Linked DNA regions of Homo sapiens: all the other regions are linked to region 1. The links are contacts of gene promoters, found by promoter capture Hi-C in blood cells and fetal thymus (Javierre and others, 2016). All regions are on one chromosome and are shown on one strand. The core of a region is centred on a gene start or on the middle of the fragment in contact, and the rest is flanking DNA. Distances in the headings are between cores, read along the strand shown. Region 1 holds the start of SLC47A1 (solute carrier family 47 member 1). Region 2 overlaps ULK2 (unc-51 like autophagy activating kinase 2). Region 3 has its middle 11 kb from the start of SLC47A2.

Region 1 (4,193 bases), core at 953-3,452:
GTGCTACTTTTTGGAAGGAAGTCACTGTGTACAATCCACCTTTAAGGAGTGAGGAGTTATGCTCTGTATCACGAGGACCTTTTGTTTTTTGTTGCTATTGTGAAAGATTTCTTTTAGTATTTTCATATATGTTATTACCAATATAAAGGACTGATATGACTTGTTGAAGAACTTCTATGTAGCAACTTTATTAAACCCCTTTATCAATTCTATTAGCTTTTGTTCATATTTTATTTCTTTGGGTTGTGTGGATTTTTTTTAAGAGATGGGGTCTCACTGTGTTGCCCAGGCTGGTCTCAAAACTCCTGGGTTCCAGTGATCCTCCCACCTCGGCCTTCCAAAGTGTTGGGATTATAGGCATGAGCCACTGTGCCTGGCCCGGTCTGTCAATTTCTACTGTGAGTAATCCCTTTGCCTTTTCTTTCCTAACATTATACATTACATTTCCATTTCCTGTCTTATTACATCAGTCAGGACTTCCAGAAAATTATCAAAAAACAGCAGTGATCAGAGATCTAGTGAATATCCTCGGGTATTTGTCTGTTGACACTCTCAGTTCTTTTGGGAAACTGCGCTACTCCATATGTACAGTCCTTGTGGGACGAGACCAGTCACAGGGCACCTAACCCTAACCCTGTAGGTTCAAAGCTGGGTGCATGGTCCAGGGCCAGCCAAACATCAGACCCTATTTTCCCACCCAGGGCGATTGTTCCAGAGGTGGGCAAGAAACCTAAGCAGGGCCAACCAGATTTTCTCCCAGTTTTTTGTTTGTTAGTTTGGAACCAGAAGAGAGGAGGGGAGGGCCTTACTTTCTGGTTTAACAGACGGGAAAGATAGGAACGAGGGTATCAGAGGCCACCACTGTCACTTGCACAGGAAGAGAAAGGCTGCCGGCAGAGGAGGAAGAGAAACTACGGAAAGAATCCCAAGGGGCGAGGAGAAGGGAGGAGAGGGACAGAGATGGGAAGAGGGACAACAAGAATGATCTGGTTTTGTTTTTTTTTTTTTTTTGAGTGGAGTCTCCCTCTGCCACCAGGCTGGAGTGCAGTGGCGAGATCTCGGCTCACTGCAACCTCTGCCTCCCGGGTTCAAGCAATTCTCCTGCCTCAGCCTCCCTAGTAGCTGGGATTATGGCGCGCGCCACCATGCACAGCTAATTTTCGGTACAGACGGTGTTTCACCATGTTGGCCAGGATGGTCTCGATCTCTTGACCTTGTGATCCGCCCGCCTAGGCCTCCCAAAGTGCTGGGATTACAGGCGTGAGCCACCGCGCCTGGCCTAATGACCTTGTTTTCAAATCCCTGAATCCAAACTTCCTGATTATGTGAGCCAAAAAATTTGTTTTCCATTTTCTCTACTTACATTGGATCATTACAACGGAAGGAATTTTGACTATTAGAGAAATCAATCTTGTCCTGGTAACTGACACTTATTAGGTAACGGCTGGTGCCAGGCTGAGGGCAGGTGGCACTGACTCCGGTCCTCCGCCCAGGCAACCCCAGTCTTCACAGCTGGCGACGAGTGTTCTTTCACGTTTGCAGATGAGGAAGCTGAGGCTCTGGGAGGAAAGCGCGCTGCTCCTGCCCTTCTGGGCCGCAGCCTCTCGTACTCCCACAGCAGGCTTGATGGATAAACTTCCAACACGACCAGCTGGCACAAACTGTGCTACTTGGCAAATGGGAGCATGTTGCTCTATCCTGGTAGATTCTAAGTTCTCTAATGGAACAACTGATGAGAGGAGAGGAGTATGCAACACCCTAACCAGCATCAAAGGGTGTACCCAACTCAATCTGCACAGCAAATGCGCCCAACCCCACACACCCCGCGGGGTGCTAACCGAGTCACGGCTCGAGGCCTCTGGGTCCTTCCACGCCAGGTCATTCAGAACCTGAAACCCCCAGCGGAGGTGGAGAGCCGGGGTGAGTCCTGGCGTCCGAGACGTGGAGGACCCAGCCCCCGGAGCGCGTTCCGTTAGTTTACAGAGCTTTTTCAAACTTTGCCTTCCAAGTGCAGGAGTTCCTTGGTCTTTGCAAGACCCGCAGGCGTCCGCAGTGGTGCAGAGAGAGGTGCAAGGGGCGCGCCCAAGGTCGCAGGCTGCCTGGCTGCGCGCTCAGTCGGGCCCCCGGGCGCCAGGCGCGGGGCGGGCTCTGGGCGGGCGGCCGGGGCGGGGACTGCAGAGCAGGCTGCACTGCGCGGTACCCACTGCCGGCCTGCGCGGTACTCACTGCCGGCCTCCGCGGTACCCACTGCCGGCCTCCGCGCTACCCGGCCGCAGCGCGCGAGTCACATGGAAGCTCCTGAGGAGCCCGCGCCAGTGCGCGGAGGCCCGGAGGCCACCCTTGAGGTCCGTGGGTCGCGCTGCTTGCGGCTGTCCGCCTTCCGAGAAGAGCTGCGGGCGCTCTTGGTCCTGGCTGGCCCCGCGGTGAGTAAGGTGGCCTCAGTGGCAGGCCGGTACCGGCGGGCTGGGGACCTGGTGATTTCTGCCTCCGCGGGTGACTTTGGCGGGCTTTGGGGACCGAGCGAGCTGTCCGCCGGCGGGCTCCGGGGAGCATCGTGCCAGGAGCCGGGCGGGCACCCCAGCTCCTCTGCCTGCGTCCCGGCCGCTTTCCGCTCCGCACCACCCGACTGGGGGCCCCGCGGGGCACTGCGGGAACGGCTGGTACGCGCCCGGGCGCATGTTGGCTCGGAGAGGCCGGCGGCTCCAGCCTCCTGCGCCAGGAGACACCGGAGAGCTGGGACCTTTGCCCCTAACGGGGCTCTACCAGGTCCAGGCTGCATTTGCATCCGGGGGTGCCTTCTCTGGGAGCTGATTCCGGCCAATAAAACGCAAGTTGCCTGAACTTCAAAACACAAGGGAACTTGTTTCTTTGAAAAGTAGCGGTCAAAAGTTCGGGAGCTCTGCGATCTAAATAATCCCGAGGCACGGAGGAGGGGGTGCGTGGTCTGTCGTGGACTCAGAGCTGCGAAATGATTTCTTCAGAATTCAGTCAACCTCTACCGAGGAAACCAGAGGCATCCTGTACCACCCCCTCCCCGCCAGTAATTATGTATGTGAAAGAAAAAAGGGGTTTTAATGTGGTTCTTTGTGGGGTCGAGGTGTTCTTATCTGTGGGATTCTTTTCTTTTTAATCATTAGGTTAGGGCTGTTTCTGCCTTGTCTCCTAAAAATAATGTGGTTTTAAAAACCACAAAAACACAATCCTATCCACGTTCTCCTGCCAGCTTGGGTGGTTTTCAAACCGAGAGGGTAGGACGCGGCACAAGAAGCAACTGGTATGCACTTAAGGCGTGAATAAGCTTTTGACTTTGAGGCCCACATTCTGCACCTGCGCGGGCTGAGGGGGGCCGCTGTGCCTCTGGAGTGGGGGCTCGGTAGTTTGTGGGATATTGTGGCACCCGCTGTGGTGTGCAGGACAGCAAGGGTAATGCCGAGGTCAAAGCCATGGAATAAGATCCATCAGCCATGCTTTCTCACAGACCAGAAAGAACTCATGATTTGGGGCTGGGCGCGGTGGTTCACGCCTGTAATCCCAGCACTTTGGGAGGCTGAGGCAGATGGATCACTTGAGGTCAGGAGTTCGAGACCAGCCTGGCCAATATGGTGAAACTCCGTCTCTACTAAAAATACAAAAATTAGCCAGACGTGGTGGCGGGCGCCTGTAGTGCCAGCTACTCCAGAGGCTGAGGCACGAGAATCGCTTGAACCTGGGAAGTGGAGGTTACAGTGAGCCAGGATGGTGCCACTGCACTCCAGCCTGAACAACAGAGTAAGACTTGGTCTCAAAAAACAAAACAAAACAAAACAAAAACACCTCATGGCTGGGCGTGGTGGCTCACGTCTGTAATCCCAGCACTTTGGGAGGCCAAGGCAGGCGGATCACGAGGTCAAGAGATTGAGACCATCCTGGCCAACCTGGTGAAACCCCGTCTATACTAAAAATACAAAAAATAAAAAATAAAAATTAGCTGGGCATGGTGGCAGGCGCCTGTAATTCCAGCTACTTGGGAGGCTGAGGCAGGAGAACCGCTTGAACCCGGGAGGCGGAGGTTGCAGTGAGCCCAGATCGCGCCATTGCACTCCAGCCTGGGCAAAAAAACACCTCATGATTTGGAATCTCAAGACCTGGGGCTGCGTGCCCTGCTTTGACCTCCGAAAGTAAGTCAGGAAGCAGCTGTGCAGATTGAAACAGCC
Region 2 (4,193 bases), core at 689-3,188, 250 kb after region 1:
TGCCTCATTTACTTCTTATAACCCATTAAGATAAAGAAAATAGTAATCTCCATTTCACTGGTAAAGAAACTGAAGCCCAGAGAATTAAGTGACTTGTCCAAGTTACAACACTGAGTCATTTGTCAAAACACTACATTCCAAATACTAGCCAAAGACTGTAATATAACAAATGCTCCTTACCTGAGGTTGTTCTTGTTCGAAGGAACATGTGGGTACAAGTGGGGGCTGCCGCACTGTGTGGAGGAGACCCTACAGTGAAGAGGACAGCCTTGGAACTTGCTGCTGTACCTGCAGGAGGTGCCAGAACACCACCACAGGCTCCTGCCGGAGCTACAACAAAAAGTTTATAGAAGGTCATATTACCCTGATAGTGTTTATATCTGGGAGATGGGATTGCAGGGGGATACTGACTTTTATATCAGGAGTCTAGTGGTTTTTTTTTTTTCCCTCTTCTTACAAAAAGTACTTATTGCTCTTAAAATCAGAAAACGTAATACAATATTTTCATTAAAATAACTTATAGTAATCTCAAGTGTGAATCTTCTTCACACCAAAATTTAGCATTCAGAGTTATGTTTGTATACTTCTAAAATACATGAACTGTAAGTTATACATGTTGAAGACAGTACTAAAAAAATGAACGCCAAGAACTGGGAATAAAAACAGGTTAAACTAGGGTAGGTGTGGTGGCTCATGCCTGTAATCCCAGCACTTTGGGAGGCCAAGGCGGGTGGATCACCTGAGGTCAGGAGTTCGAGACCAGCCTGGCCAACGTGGTGAAACCCTGTTTCTACTAAAAATACAAAACTTTGCCGGGCATGGTGATGCGTGCCTGTAATCCCAGCTACTCAAGAGCCTGAGTCAGGAGAATCTCTTGAACCCAGGAGGCAGAGGTTGCAGTGAGCTGAGATCATGCCACTGCACTCCAGCCTGGGTGACAGAGTGAGGCTCCGTCTCAAAAAAAAAAAAAAAAGAAAGAAAAGAAATCAAAATAAAGACATTCCCAAATAAACAGAAGCTGAGAGAATTTACTGCCAGCAGACCTGTCTTACAAGAAATACAAAGGATAGCTCTTCAGACCAAAAGTAACTAACTCCAAATAGTAATCCCAATCTGTAAAGATAATTACAAAACACAAACTGTATATTTCTTCTGTTAACTGATTTTAAAAAGCAACTGTATAAAACATGTATACAGTTGCACTGTCAGGTCTATAGCATATAGAAATGTAATGTTCATTTATTTACTTTTTTTTTTTTTGGAGACGGAATCTCACTCTGTCGCCAGGCTGGAGTGCATTGGCACGATCTCAGCTCACTGCAACCTCTGCCTCCTGATTCTCCTGCCTCAGCCTCTCGAGTAGCTGGGATTACAGGTGCGTGCCACCACGCCCAGCTAATTTTTGTATTTTTAGTAGAGACAGGGTTTCATCATGTTGGCCAGGATGGTCTCGATCTCTTGACCTTGTGATCCGCCCGCCTTGGCCTCTCAAACTGCTGGGATTACAGGCGTGAGCCACTGCGCCCAGCCTTAGTTTTTATTTTTTTAGAGACAGGGTCTCCACCTGTCACCCAGGCTGAAGGGCACTGGTGTGACCATAGCTCACTGCAGCCTGGAACTCCTGAGCTCAAGTGATCCTCCTGCCTCGGCCTTCCACAGTGTTGGGATTACAGGCGTGAGCCACTGCACCCAGCCAGAAATATATTTGATAATAAGAACATAAAGGAGTCAGATGGGAGTAAAACTATATTAGAGTAAGGAAGTGACACCAGATGGTAACTCAAATCCACAAAAACACACCAAGATAACCAGAAATGATAAGTAAGAAAGTTAATATAACAAACTATAAATACATACTTGCTTTCTTATCTCAGCTTCTTTTCAAAGACATAAAATTACAAACCAGAGTAAGATGGCAAAATAGAAGGCTCCACCAATTGTACAACCCACCTCCCAAAAATTTGCACACAATAAAGCACCTTCATAAGAACCAAAAATCAGGTGAGTAATCACAGTACCTGGTTTTAACTTCATATCACTGAAAGAGGCACTGAAGAGGGTAGGAAAGGCAGTCTTGAATCACCAGCACCACCCTCCGCCCCTCCCCTGGCAGCAGCTGTGTGTGGCAAGGAAATAATCTGTGTACTTGGGGGAGGGAGAGTGCAGCAATTTGGGGATTGCACATTGAACTCAGTGCTGTCCTGTCACAGTGCAAAGGAAAACCATGCTGAACTCAGCTGGTGTCCGCCCACGGAGGGAGCATTTGGACCAGCTGTAGCTAGAGGGAAAGTGCCTGTCTGAGTGGCCAGAATGTGAGTTTCTGCAAGCCTCACCACCACAAGCTAAAGCGCTCCGGGTCCAAGTGAACTTGAAAGGCAGTCTAGGACACAAGGACTGCAATTCCTAGCCAAATCCTGGTGCCGTGCTGGGCTTAAAGCCAGTGGATTGGGGCATGACTTAGAGAGACATCAGACAGGGCTTCTAAGGGAGTGTTTGTGCCACTCCTCCTCCCAAACCCAGGCAGCGCAGCTCACAGCAACAAAAGTGACTCCTTCCTTCTGCTTGAGGACAAGAGATAAAGGTAAAAAGGGCTTTCTCTTATGTCTTGGATACTAGGCTCAGCCACAGTAGGACGAGCCCCGGGCAGAGTCGTGAGACCCCCATCCCAGGCCCTAGTTCCTGTTGACATTTCTAAACACACCCTGAGCCAGAAGTGAACTCACTGGCCTTGAAAAAAAAGACCCAGTCCTGGCAGGATTCATCACCTGCTGACTGAAGAGTCCTCGGGCCCTGAATAACCAATAATACTACCCAGGGAGCATGCTTGGGCCTTGGGTGAGACTCTGAGACATGCTGGCTTCAGGTAGCAGCTTGATTACAGTGGGATAGAGCACCAAGCAGGCTCTTGGGGTTCCCAAGTCTAGGCCTAGGCTCTTGGACATTTCTGGACCTGCCCTGAAGGGTGGGTCTTAGGCCTAGCAGCACTCAGCACATGCTGACTGAAGAGCCCTTGGGCCTTAAGTTAACATCAGTGGTGGCCTGGCAGAACTCCTTGTGGGCCATTGGTGGTTACAGCCACAGGGATAGGTTCCTCTGCCTGTGGAAGGGGCAGGAAAGACCGGGAAGGACTTTGTCTTGCGGTTTGAGTGGCAGCTTAGCTGCAGTAGGATACAATACCAGGTAGATTTCTAAGGTTTTTTATTCCAACCCCTGACTCCTAGATAGCATCTCTGGACATGCCTGGTGCCTGGGGTACTTGTTGCCCTGAAAGGAAGGACACAAACCTGGCTGGTTTCACCACCTGCTGATTGTAAGTCCTGGGGCTTGAGCGAACATAGGTAGTAGCCAAGCAATGATTAAAGAGGGCCTTGGGCAAGACCCAGGGCTGTGCTGGCTTCAGGTCTAACCCAGGCAGTTCCAGTGGTGGTGGCCACAGGGGTGTTTGCATCACCCCACCCCCACCTCCAAGTAGCTCAGCATAGAAAGAGAGACACGCCATTAGTTGTTCACCTTTTGATAAAAAGTTAGGGAAGAGAACAAAAGTCTCTAGCTGGTAATCCATAGAATTCTTCTGGATCTTATCCAAGTCAATGAGTCTGCAAGAACTACAGCATTATTGGGCTTGGAGCCCAAGTCCCGTCAAATACCTGGAAAGTCTCCCCAAGAAGGACGGGTACAGATTGCAAAGCCCAGGCTGTGAAGACAACAATAAATACCTAACATGTCAATGCCCAGACACGGACAAAAATCTACATCAAGACCAGCCAGGAAAACATGAACTTACCAAGTGAACTAAATAAGGCACCAGGGACCAATCATGGAGAAACAGATACATAACCTTTCAGACAGAGAATTCAAAATAGCTGTTTTGAGGAAACTCAAGGAAATTCAAGATAATATAGAGAAGAAATTCAGAATTCTATCAGATAAATCTAACACAGACTGAAATAATTAAAAGAATCAAGTAAAAATTCCAGAGGTGAAAAATGCAATTGACACACTGAAGAATGCAATGGAGTCTCTTAATAGCAGAATTGATCAAGCAGAAGAAAGAATTAGTGAGCTTTGAAAATAGGCTATCTGAAAATACAGAGGAAACAGAAGAAAAAAATGAAAAAGAATGAAGCAAGCCTACAAATCTAAAAAAAGCTGCCAAAAAAAAAAAAAAACAAAAACTAAGGGTTATTGGCCTT
Region 3 (4,193 bases), core at 1,089-3,588, 190 kb after region 1:
ACCATAAAAAGGAAGGAAATTCTGACAGATGCCACATATAACATGGATGAACTTTGAGGACATTTTGCTGAATGAAATAAGCCAGACACAAAGGGACAAACACTGTGTGATTCCACTTACCTGAGGGACTTAGAGTCGTCAAATTCCAAGAGACAGAAAGTAGAATGGTGGTTGTCAGGGGCTGGAGAGAAGGTGGGAGTTGTTTAAAGTGTAAATTGTTTCAGTTTTGCAAGATGAAAAGAGTTCTGCAGACTGCTTGCACAGCAATGTGAAGGTATTTAACTATTGAACTGTACACTTAAATCGGGTAAGATGGTAATTTTTTTTTTTTTTTGAGATGGAGTCTGTCTCTGTCGCCCAGGCTGGAGTGCAATGGCGTGATCTCTGCTCACTACAACCTCCACCTCCTGGATTCAATCGATCCTCCTGCCTCAGCCTCCCAAGTAGCTGGGATTACAGGCGTGCACCACCACACCCAGCTAATTTTGGTATTTTTAATAGAGACAGGGTTTCACCATGTTGGCCAGGCTGGTCTCGAACTCCTGACCTCAAATGATCCATCCACCCGCCCCGGGCCTCCCAAAGTGCTGGGATAATAGGTGTGAGCTACCTCACCCAGCCAAGATGGTAAATTTTATGTTGTGTGTATTTTATCACGATTAAAATACAAATAAAAACAAACCTGACATACAGTATTGGTACAAGAAGGAGATAGGCTAACATAGATGTAAGTGTCTGGAACCTAGTAGACATTTATCCAATGTTATGGTCCTTTTTTCTTTCATGCTAAAATTCTGGGTCCTTGGCTCCTGATGTCTTAAAGACATAGACTAGATGAAACTCATTTGTAAGTAGCCCAGACATTACTTATATATCAATGAACACTGTAAAAGTTCTCAGGTTTCTTTTCTTAAGTAGGTTAAATAATCTGCATAACACATTTTGTTACATAACAAATATTTTTGAAGAAGGAGTAAGAGGAGGAGAACGAGGAGGAGGGGGGGGAGAAGGAGAAGATGACTCCTTTGGCTTGGAAAGAAAACTTTGGCTTGGCGTTTAGCATTTTCATTTCTACAAATTCCCCACAGAATACGTCTGAATGGTGTGTAGGAGTGTATGTGATGATGTAATGATATATGTAGGAATCGGAGCCTCCATTATGTGCTAATTGTGCAGCACGAGACACATCTCATTTAATCTCATTTAATGCCAACCTTTTCAGGCAGATATACTTATTCCCATTTTACAAATGACAGGATTGAAGCTCAGAGAAAGAAAGTACTTGCCCAAGGTCACACTGCTAGAAAGTGGCAGACTCAGAATATGAGGCTGAGTCTGTCTCCTATCCAAGTGCACATCCTTTCTACTTCATCTGGGATGACAGATAGCTTTTCTCCAGCCTGCCAGTTCTACTCTGTTGTACTGCATTGCTATATTGTGAATTCAGCGGATTCAGCAAAGCAAACAAGAGTGCGGTGATCAACTTGTAATGTCTGCCATGGACACTGGATAGAGGAGTAACAGTATGTGTGCTTATGGAAAAACCTCTCCAACTTACATCATAGTGAGCACAGGTTTAGGAGCAGAACTAGAAAGAAAATATTTTTTTCTGTCTGTCTAGCAACTGTTGGCCTGAAAAAGAACTCAGTGTCAGAATGGTCAGGAAGGCCCAGCCTTCCTACTGTCAGGGTGTCTAGCCGGGGCTAGGTCTCTCTGTCCTCACCCCTTTGCCTTCCCAAGGTAGGGAAGGTGTAGAAAATCCAGTTGGGAATTTCTGGTAGAAACTTCTACTCCTGGTGCCAATTTCTACCAGTCAGCTACCCTGTAAACTTCTATCAGGCATACAAGCCTTGGGAAACAGAGAGCTGTTGTCTTGCTCAAGCACAAGTTACCAGCAACAAACATTTGTTTCCCAGCAGATCACATGAGGACTTGTGAGATCATGTCTGGCCCTGGCTCAAATAGAAGATGTTCCATTAAAGCAGTTCCCGGGGACCAGGCCTAGGCAACTTTCCTAGGATGGGCAAGGCAGTTGTTCGGGAAGCTTGGCACCTGCACAGCCCCATTGTCATGTGAGGAAACGAAGGGTGTGAGCTTTCCCCCACCTGTCCACTTAGAAGCGTGGGTCAAAGCAGAGAAGAGGGGATATCTCCTTCCCATCTGCCCTTGTCCTCCCACCCCACCCAGGCTGAGGTGCCTCCTACTCCTCCTGCTCTGCTAAGAGGCTGAGATCTGTCTGAGCTGTTGGCAGAACCCTAGAAAGTGCTCCCAGGTCATCCCAGGCCTCCCAGAGGCAGGGTCTGGCAGGGTGGAGAGCTGCCATCATGGCAGAGAACTGCAGCATCAGGCAGGGAAACCAAGGCAGGGCCCAATGGGTGTGGGTGAAAGCTGCACATCCAGAAGTACACGGCTTCCCCCAGGCACCGCAGATCCTGGCCCTGAACGACAAGAGTGCCTGACCTCACGATTGCCAGCAGCTGCCTGTCCTGCAAGGCCTGGCCCTGTGCCAGGGCAGCTGCTTTGCGTGTGGCTGCCTCTCCTGCCCAAACAATTTCTGTTGCCTTTAGGAATGAAGGAGCTCAGGCCAAGCCCAGTTGGTGTTTTCAAAATTTCCTGTAAACAAAGGAAAAGATGAAGCTTATATAACACCCTTGGCTGGAGAATCAGCGGCTGCTTGGCATAGCTGAGAGAGAGGCCTGGGCGCAGACAGTGGTGTGTCCAGGCAGGCAGGGGCCTGGGTCATCCCTCTCAGGACTATTCTTTCTGAACCTTCTGCAAACTCTCCAGTGACCTCTGGGGCCCATTTCAGAGGTCTGAGCAGCTCAGGCTTGGAGAACCACAGAGCTAGAAGGAAAAAGTATTGGAAATAATAAGAACTAATATTCATTAGCCCCCGATTAGGCGCAAGTGCTTTACCTGCACAATCTCATTTAATCCACACCAACCCTAGGAGGCAAACACTGAGGTAACCAATTAGTAGCTGAAAGATAGGCCCGGGGGTGGGCCAGCCACCCACGTTCACATGGTTGGGTATGATCGATCACTTGGCCCTCAGCTTCCCTTCCACCTCCTGCTCACAGCTCTCTATGCAGCAGCAGCTAAAACCCACATTTCCCAGACTCCCCTGGGGCAGGGTTCCAGGGAAGAATGAAGTTCTGCACTTCAGATGCACTTGTGTGAGAGTTGGCTGCTTCGGGCCAGGCGCGGTGGCTCACGCCTGTAATCCCAGCACTTTGGGAGGCCGAGAAGGGTAGATCACAAGGTCAGGAGTTTGAGACCAACCTGACCAACATGCTGAAACCCTGTCTCTACTAAAAAAAAAAAAAAATTAATTAGCCGGGCGTGGTGGCAGGCGCCTGTAATCCCAGCTACTGGGGAGGCTGAGGCAGGAGAATCACTCGAACCCAGGAGGCGGAGGTTGTGGTGAGCTGAGATCAAGCCACTGCACTCCAGCCTGGGTGACAGAGGGAGACTCTGTCTCAAAAAAAAGAAAAAAAAAAAAAGAGTTGGCTGCTTTGGTTGCTGGGTTTCCTGCACTAGTGATCTCTTATCCAGCAGCCGCTTCTGTGAGTGTCAAGAAGCAGTTACAGTGGTGATGGCAGTGCCAGCTTCCCAGTCCCAGCTTCCCTTGGATTGAGCCCATGACAGGAAGGTTTTGTTTGTTTGAGATGGAGTTTTGCTCTTGTTGCCCAGGCTGGAGTGCAATGGCAAGATCTCGGCTCATTGCAACCTCCAGCTCCCAGGTTCAAGCGATACTCCTGCCTCAGCCTCCCAAATAACTGGAACTACAGGTGTGCAGCACCACGCCCAGCTAATTTTGTATTTTTAGTAGAGACGGGGTTTCACCATGTTGGCCAGGCTGGACTCAAACTCCTGACCTCAAGTGATCCGCCCGCCTCAGCCTCCCAAAGTGCTGGCATTACAGGCGTGAGCCACCGCTCCCGGCCGACAGGGAGTTCTTGACTTTCACAGTTGCAGGGTGGCCTCAGGTGGGTGGTGTGTGTGCGCAGGGATCTGCACAAAGACTGGCGTTGCGCGGGTGTCTACAGTCTGGAGGCCCTGCTGACGCCCTGCAGTCCTGGGGAGGAAGAGACTTGGAGGGAGGAGGTGCTGGGAGGTCTAAGCAGAAGTCTCAGGAGAACAAGCCCGCCCTGTTCAGGAGACACTGGAACAAGGAGTACACCAAGCGGTAA

What was found. Contacts are between HindIII fragments. The CHiCAGO score rates a contact against its expected background, and 5 or more counts as called.
Region 2: a contact is called between a fragment that was not itself captured here and the fragment with the promoter of SLC47A1 in region 1, in 8 of 17 cell types (total CD4 T cells, naive CD8 T cells, activated CD4 T cells and 5 more). The highest score is 6.0, in total CD4 T cells.
Region 3: a contact is called between a fragment that was not itself captured here and the fragment with the promoter of SLC47A1 in region 1, in 15 of 17 cell types (megakaryocytes, total B cells, endothelial precursors and 12 more). The highest score is 11.6, in megakaryocytes.

What each region holds. Positions count from the first base shown.
Region 1 is chr17:19,531,652-19,535,844 of GRCh38, forward strand. It overlaps SLC47A1 (solute carrier family 47 member 1), which reads left to right and starts at 2,203. Exons shown (of 17, transcript NM_018242.3): 1 at 2,203-2,423. The coding sequence starts at 2,289. The HindIII fragment of the contact is 8,699 bases long and covers 1-3,296 here.
Region 2 is chr17:19,785,757-19,789,949 of GRCh38, forward strand. It overlaps ULK2 (unc-51 like autophagy activating kinase 2), which reads right to left. Exons shown (of 27, transcript NM_014683.4): 21 at 181-330. Among named protein-coding and RNA genes, the nearest start is that of ALDH3A1, 40 kb to the left of the region's middle. The HindIII fragment of the contact is 8,374 bases long and covers 1-4,193 here.
Region 3 is chr17:19,725,708-19,729,900 of GRCh38, forward strand. No RefSeq gene overlaps it. Among named protein-coding and RNA genes, the nearest start is that of SLC47A2, 11 kb to the left of the region's middle. The HindIII fragment of the contact is 593 bases long and covers 2,043-2,635 here.